Regions from separate parts of the Homo sapiens genome. Here regions 2 and 3 are each linked to region 1. Evidence: promoter capture Hi-C in human tissues and cell types (Jung and others, 2019). All regions are on one chromosome and are shown on one strand. Each heading gives the region's core, a stretch centred on a gene start or on the middle of the fragment in contact. The rest is flanking DNA. Distances are from core to core; before and after follow the strand shown.

Region 1 (2,552 bases), core at 36-2,535:
ATACTCGAATGGAGTGCGTGAGTTAAGGACTGGCCGGCAGACGCCGCACGGAGGGAAACACGAGGCCGACGCCAGCAGAGCCCAGTGCAGCAGCCACCGCTAGGCCGTCTCCGGAGGGGCTGAGACAACTGGGTCCGGAGCCCCTCTCCTGGCGGAAGCGGCCTGGTCTCCCTCACTCCCTGCCCCCATCCCTAGGGGCGGCCGCGAGGCGGGGCCTCCGCAGTCTGGGCCGCCAGCCCCTCGGCACACCCGGGCGGCCGTCAGCACCGCGGACAGCGCCTCCGGCCCGGCTCCGCCCGACTCCAGGGCCCCGAGGGGAGGGGGCCGAGCGCCCCCAGGCGAGGCTGGAGGGAGACCCCGCGCAGGCGCACGCTGCTCCCTCCAGACACGCAGCCACATGTACCTACACAGGCACGTGAACATGCATGTAGCCCGCATCGCGAGCGCACGCACGCGCAGCGCCAGGCTCCAGCTCAGCCCGCACACGCAGGCACCTGCAGCCAGGCGCGCGCACGGCCGCGTCCCCACAGCGCTCGCACCTGCACGGACGCGGCTTCGCCCTCGGTGCCCTCCAGGCTAGCCGCGCACTGTGCACCGACCAGGATCCCCAGGACCCGGCGTGCGGAGGGACGAGTCCGGAGCAGAGGGGCTCCGCCCCGCGCCCGCCGCACTCACGGAAATGCTCCCGCACCCGCCGCTCCGAGGGGCCCTGGGGCGCTCCGTACCCCCCTCGCCCGTCTCCCGACGCCTCCCCAGGTCGCGCCCTCCCGGCCACCGGGAAGATGGCCCCGGCCCCGGCCCCCACCCCGGTCCCCGCCCGGCCCCGCCCGGCCCCGCCCGGCAGGATATGGCCACTCGGTGATGCGCTTCGCGTATTTGCGGACGACGTTGTCCTCGCTGAAGACGAAGAGCGAGCGGTTGACGGTGAAGCAGTTCTGCTTGACCGGGATGGGGTTGTACAGCGCCATGGTCCGCGCGCGCTGCGCGATCGATTGCTTGTAGAGGACCCGCTGGCCGGGCTGCAGCCCCCCGGGACCCGGGCCCCCCGCCCCGCCGGCCCCGCCGCCCCGGGCCCGCTCTCCGCCGCCGGGGCCCCCATAGCGGCCGCCCAGCTCGTCCCCGAAGCGGACCATGGCTCCCGGGCCCCGCGTGCATCCCCGGCCCAGCGGCCCCGGCAGGGAGGGCGCGGGGCGCGCCAGGCGCTCAGAGCGGAGCAGCCACGGAGCCGCCGGGACCGCAGCGGACCTCGCCCGGCCCCACCGCCGCAGCCGCCGCCGCCTCACCCGACTCCGCGGCCCCGCGCCACGCCCTATAAGGGGCCGGTCACGTGGCGGGGCCCGGCCAATCCGCGCCGGCCCCGCCCACCCTGCCGCGCCGGCCCCGCCCCGCGGCCGCCCCCGCCCCGCCCCGGCCCCTCCGGCTGCGCCTCCCTCGCCCCGCGCCTCCCACCCCGGGGCTGGGCCGGGCCCAGGAGCGGACGAGCCTGTGGGTCCTCGACGGCCGCTCAGCGCCAGCCCGGGCCGTCCCCGGAGCCCACTCTGCCGGCCGCACCGCCCCTGGGTGCCCTCGGCTCCTCAAACTCGGCCCAGACGGACCCCTCGCTCCGCCCGGAGGCGCCACCAGCCCTGGGGCTGCAGCCCAGAGCTGGGCGCCAGGCCTGGGCCGGCCCGCCCCGTCCCCGCCGGGTCCCCGGCCTTCCCAACCCTCCGGGTGCGCTCGGCTCGCGGCCTTGGTGCCACGCGGACGCTTCTGTCGGGGGCCCCCAGCCCGGGTGCGGGACCTGCTGTTTCCACGCACGGGGCTGGCTCCGGGATCTCAGCTCAGAGAAGCCTCTGACCGCCTTGCAGGCCACGCCCCGTTAGGGAACCTGTCACGGTCACTGCCATTCCCCAGGCCTCCTTGAGCGCCCACCGCGGGCCGGGCCTGTCCTGGGCTCCCAGCTCTGCCCTCACGGAGCTGACCGTTTTGTACAAAGCACAGCAACCATTTACACAGCGCTCACTTCGTGCAGGCCCGTGGGTCCTCACAACCTCCAAAAAGGCGGCCCCGGGGTCGGGGAGACCTTCGGGAACAAGGGACCCTCTCGGACCTGAAGCTCGCTCGCAAGGCGCTGAGTGCAGAGTGAGGCCGGGTGCGGGCTGCGCCTTCTGAGAGGGAGGCAGTCCGCACAGTTCCGAGCAGAGGCGCGTAGGCCTCTGAAGGGTCCCTCGGGCTGCCGTGTGGAGTGTGGACTGCAGGAGGCTGGGGTGCTGAATCACTTAGGATGCATTCAGAGGCGAACAACCCGCTTCCCAGCTAGCAGCAGCTTGCACGATGCCATTGTGATCTCACTGAATACGAAGCCACCATCTCTCCTCCCTCCAAAATCCCCACATACACTTTCTGCCTTCCTGCCTGTTGCCTCATGCCCCAGGGTGGCTGTCATAGCACAGGGCATCACACCGCTACACCAGCATCTCAAACGGGAAGGAAGTGGCAGGTGTACAAAGGATGACCACTTTGTGAATCAGGTTACGATTTTCTTTTCTAACAAAGGAAAAGCTTCTCAGAGG
Region 2 (2,552 bases), core at 37-2,536, 120 kb after region 1:
GTCTTTTCATTCAAGCCACATGCTCCACCTAGATCTTAGACAGACAGGAAAAGTCAACCACCTTTGAGAAATCACCATCATCAACTTGAAGAACAGGAGTACACTTTGTATAGTTTTAAACGAAAAGAAGATTTAAATAAAAAATTCATAAAGAAATAAAATTCAAACTCCTCTGTGAATATTTAAAAGCACACATTTTGCACATTACAGCCAAGATGACAAAGATGAAATCTCTACCCCAAAAACAACTTTTAGTCTTGGCTCTAAAATGCTTTTGTTGGCCAACAGTAAAAGCCACATCTGGTGTTATGATCTGAATCAATAAACTGAGGTGAAGAGAAACGTAACTGAAGCACCACATGCAGCTCCCGGGGGGCTCACACGTCCTCCACCCTCAAACGCCAGGAGCCTCCATGGTGACTGCCTCACGCCCCAGGTCTCCCGCAACCCTCTCTTTTCAGGGGATGACGCCTCCCCAACATCCAGTTAACAGAGGTACTCTACATTGGGGAATCTAGATTAGCCAAAATCACTGTGAATAAGAACAAAGTGCTGCCACTCGGTGACACTGGTATAAGGATAAACAAATAAATAAATGAAACAGACCAGAATGTCCAGGAACAGCCCACACACTGAATGTCAACAGGTGGAGAAAAATCAACTCAAGCAGCAGTGCCTATGGCAGCTGCACACCCACTGCCAAGAAGGGGCCTGCGCCACAGCTCACTCAAACATCAGTGCAAAATGAACCGACAGGCAAGCGCGGAGCCTGCAGATGCCAAGAAGAAAACAAGGGACAAAACCTCTGTGACCTGGGTCTGTCAAAGATTTCTTAGAGCACAAAAGCATGAACCCCCCAAGTAAAATAACTCGTAACTTGGACTTCAAGAAAACCTTAAAAACGTTTGCTCTTCTAAATACAGCATTAGGAAAATGAAAAGGCAGGTCAGAGACTAGGTACAAATACATGCAAAACATCCACCTGATAAAAGACTTGTCTCCAGAATATGTTAAAAACTCTTTTAACCCAATGAGAAGAAAAACAACCAGATTTTAAAAGTGAGCAAAAGATGTGAACAGACACGTTTCAAAAAAACTAAATGAAGGCTAAAATGTACAATCTCATTACTCATTAGGTAACAGCATTGAAACTACAGTAAAACACCACTGCACACCCACAGATCCACTGGAATTAAAAAGACTAACCCTAACAAGTGCTGGCGTGGACAGAGGGGAACTGGAATGCTTGTGTGTTGTCTGGACCTAAAACAGGACGAGTGCTTGGAAAACAGCTTGGCAGCTTCCTGAAGAGCTGAACACACGCCACTCTACTCAGCCATTCCACTCCCAGATACCTAACCAAGATCTAGGGAAGCACCTGTTCAAAAAAGATTTGCACACAAATGTTCACGGCCACTTAATTTCTAGCAGCCAAGGCTGGAAAGAGCCCAAAGCCCATGGACGGATGAATGGACAGATAAGACTGTGGGGCAGCCACACAATGGGACACTTCTCAGCAATGGACAGAAACAAACTCCTGGCCATTCGACAGCCTGGCAACTCAAAACAATTATACTCAGAGAAGCCAGATGAAAAACAACCACACAGTTCCATCTATATAAAATTCTACAGAACACTAACCAATACATGGAAACAGAGCAGACCAGGGGCTGCCTGGGAGCAGGGAAGGGAGGCAGGGAAGGGGCCAGGTTATCAAAGGGCAGGAGGGACCCGGGGTGACAGAGGAGCTCATGGCACTGATCATCTGACTGTGGTGATGGATTCAAGGTCATAAGCATGTTAAAACTTGTCAAATTGTGTAATTTATTTCTGTGCATTTTATTGGATGCCAGGTGCACCTCGGTTAAGCTGGAAACAAAAACGGCCCTTGGCACCCTAAACCTGCTGCATCCCTTCTGGGTTTGAGGAGATTTCCTTCCTACATTCACGTTGTGATTCACAAAGTTCCTCTGGAACAGGGGACTCTGACCGAGGCACAGGTGCCTCACTGAGGGGCCGCTTCCTGCACACAACGTGGGAGCTGCCCATGCAGGCCACAGGTTCCAGTCACCCATGCGGGCAGCAAATGATTCACCTCGGTTCAACATTCAACAATGAAGTTGGGGCCGGGCGCAGTGGCTCACACCTGTAATCCCAGCACTTTGGGAGGCCAAAACGGGCAGATCGCTTGAGCTCAGGAGTTCGAGACCAGCCTGGCCAACATAGCAAAACCCCATCTCTACCAAAAAAACACAAAAAAATAAGCTGGGCATGATGGCACACGCCTATAGTCCCAGCTTCTTGGGGAGATGAGGTAGGATGATCGCCTGAGCCCAGAAGGTGGAAGCTGCAGTGAGCTGAGATCGTGCCACTGCGCTCCAGCCTGGGTAACAGAACCAGATCCTGTCTCAAAAAAAAAAAATTAAATTAAAAACAACAACAGTGAAGTCAACGTCCACTACATTGGCCAGAAGGAAACTACTTTAGAATCACTTGAGTTTCTCTAACAAAGTCATTTCAAACATTTTTTTTAAACAGTGATGCCCTCTTTT
Region 3 (2,552 bases), core at 21-2,520, 93 kb before region 1:
GGGGCCCATCCTGGCCCCTGTGCTGAGGCTTGTGGAACAGAACTGCAAACAGCTCACTCCACGGAAGGGCATGAATGCATCCAGATTTAGCCAATTGTAAAGAAAAATGAAGGTAACCAGGGGAACCTGGGGAGGGTAAGAAGCCAGGACTCCCCCCTCAGGAACCCGGGGCAGAATCAGCAGCCACGTGGTGGAAAGGAGCGTGGGGCTAAGTCCCCTGTCTGTGGGTCTGAAGCCCTCTCAGGGGAGGACACCCATCTGCCTGGCCTGACTCGCCCCTGGTCGTCCCACATATATCCTGCCCTGGGTGCCTCGGACCCCTCAACCAGTCTCACACTATGCTGAGGGACAGGGGTCTAGCAGATCCAGCTGTGCTTTCTGGAACCCAGGGGCTGGAGAGGCCACCCTCCAGCTCTGGACACACCCCAGGCCCCCACAGAGGCTCCTGGAGGCTGACTAGGGCTGTGGGATACTTTGAGCAACATGGGGGTGGGTCCCGTCCCACCTGGGGTAGCCCCAGGGCATGGACCAGGGTTTCCAGACTGAGAGCAGAGATGCTCAGGAAGCACCTGAGGGAGGGACGGGGATACGTACACAGGGTCGTGGTAAGCCGCCGCGGCTGGTTGTAATGCACCATGGCCACACACAGTGTGTTCAGGGCCACCACGCACAGCACCACCCAGTAGAAGCTCTGAGCCTTCACCATGCGCCGGATAAAAAACCGGAACATCTTCTCCTTCCTCCGGAAGTATGACGAGCTCTCTGTCTTCCCGCTCTTGAGGCTGGCGCGGGCGAAGGGGGATCCTGAGGGGATGGGGAGTTACTGAGGATGTGGGGACCAATGGGCACCCGCCTACCCCACCTGTGGACCCCCACAGACGCACTCTGGAGGACACCTGCCCCCAGCCCCAGCCGGTCACAGACAATTGTGCCAGTGACCCCTGTGACCTCCACTTCACAGCTGAGGGAACCAAGGCCCTGATGATCTCCATGGTTACTGGGTGCCAGATGTGAGAGCCAGATTGAAGTGGATGATCTGTACTCACTTCTCTGGTCCCCAGCATCCCCAGCCACCTTCTAGGAGCACAGCCCTGATGCCCCCAGGCCACTCTCCATGAGCACCCCAAGCTTTTTCCCCTGAAGACATAAATCTGAGTTAGTCCCTCCCCAGATCCCATCTCTTCAGCATAGCCCACAGAGCCCTGCAGCATCTGGCCCTCCCTCTCTCGCCCTCCGGACTCAGGGGTCAGCACGCATGGGCTGCCTGTTTTCTAAGCAGTTTTCCTGGAACACAGCCAAGCTCATCGGTTTACGCATGGTCCATGGCTGTTCAATGTCCACAATACTTACTGTTGGAAACTTTGTCTACCTGCTCCAGCCTGACTGCTTCTCTACCCTGCTCACCACCCAACCCAGCAGCCTTTTCCCATGTCCACGCACACCAGTCCTGCTGTGCCCTGGCCCTTCACACAATATCCCAAGTGTGAAATGCGTCCCTCACTGGACTCCTTCCCACACACTTTCAAGTCTCAGCATTAACGTCACCTGCACAGAGCACCTGCTCTGGGCACACCATTTAGAACAGGGCCCTCGGCTCACCTCCGACAGTGGCCCTGACCACATCACCACCTGTCACTGTGTTTTATTGTTGACCTGTTCCATGCCCAACTCCCAGACAAGACTGTAGGCTCCATGAGGACAGGGCCACATTGTCTTCTTCACCACTGAGCCCCTCACACTGAGAGGGGCTTGATCAATGCTTAACAACTGAGGGAAGGGTCTCTATGAGGATTCAGGTGTGTCTGTACAGGAGCTGGCTGTGTCTCTGCAGGAGAGCACATCTGCCTGTGTAAGGGTTTCTTAGTTTGTGCACTAAGCCTGGCCATGTGGGTGCCTCTCAGTGTTCTCAGAGAGCAGACAGCTGTGCCCCAGCCATGGGTCTCTCAGTGGGCTTTGAATACCTGGGCTTGAGCATGGGGTCCCTGTGTGAGGATGTGGGGAGCAGTGTATGCTACATGTACTTTCTGTGTGTTTGTACACACATGCATATGTGTGCACACCCAGGTTCTCAGTGGCACAAAAGAGCAGGGGCAGTGTGGGCATGTGTGCTATGCATATTTTCTGTTTGTACACACATGCATATGTGTGCACACCCAGGCTCTCAGTGGCTCTCATAGCTCGTGTGCTATGTGCATTTTCTGTGTGTTTGTACACATGTGTGTACATGTGCACACCCAGGCTCTCAGTGGCATGTGGCCAGCCCTGCTGAAGGCCAGGGATGACCACTCCCCACAGAGGCAGCAGTAGGGCAGGAGGGAGGCAGGTGTGCAATGCAGATAAGGAGGGGCACACACACAGGCAGAGCTGTGCACAGAACAAGCCCACACACTCTGAACCCCCCATGCACCCACACACAGTTGTGCAGGAACACAGGAGTCACACACGCACATGCTTCACAGCACACATCCAGCCTGACCACGCTCACTTTTGAAGATCCAATGAGATGCTCACACAGACACACTCCTCAGTGCACATGAGGCACACACCTGTGG

Evidence for each region. The method cuts DNA at HindIII sites, captures the fragments that hold promoters and counts their contacts. A contact is called where the count stands out against the background at its distance.
Region 2: a contact is called between a fragment that was not itself captured here and the fragment with the promoter of CACNA1B in region 1, in 2 of the 25 tissues and cell types used here (dorsolateral prefrontal cortex and lymphoblastoid cells).
Region 3: a contact is called between a fragment that was not itself captured here and the fragment with the promoter of CACNA1B in region 1, in 4 of the 25 tissues and cell types used here (H1 embryonic stem cells, IMR-90 fibroblasts, dorsolateral prefrontal cortex and 1 more).

The regions. Positions count from the first base shown.
Region 1 is chr9:137,876,515-137,879,066 of GRCh38, reverse strand. CACNA1B (calcium voltage-gated channel subunit alpha1 B) reads right to left here and starts at 1,285. Exons shown (of 47, transcript NM_000718.4): 1 at 850-1,285; 2 at 1-13. The coding sequence starts at 1,133. The region is part of intron 2 of CACNA1B-AS2 (CACNA1B antisense RNA 2); the gene reads left to right. RefSeq lists an enhancer at 177-1,092. The HindIII fragment of the contact is 23,600 bases long and covers 1-2,552 here.
Region 2 is chr9:137,754,389-137,756,940 of GRCh38, reverse strand. All of the region lies in intron 8 of EHMT1 (euchromatic histone lysine methyltransferase 1), which reads right to left. Among named protein-coding and RNA genes, the nearest start is that of MIR602, 83 kb to the left of the region's middle. The HindIII fragment of the contact is 7,617 bases long and covers 1-2,552 here.
Region 3 is chr9:137,969,635-137,972,186 of GRCh38, reverse strand. It overlaps CACNA1B (calcium voltage-gated channel subunit alpha1 B), which reads right to left. Exons shown (of 47, transcript NM_000718.4): 11 at 595-804. Among named protein-coding and RNA genes, the nearest start is that of CACNA1B-AS1, 24 kb to the right of the region's middle. The HindIII fragment of the contact is 7,856 bases long and covers 1-2,552 here.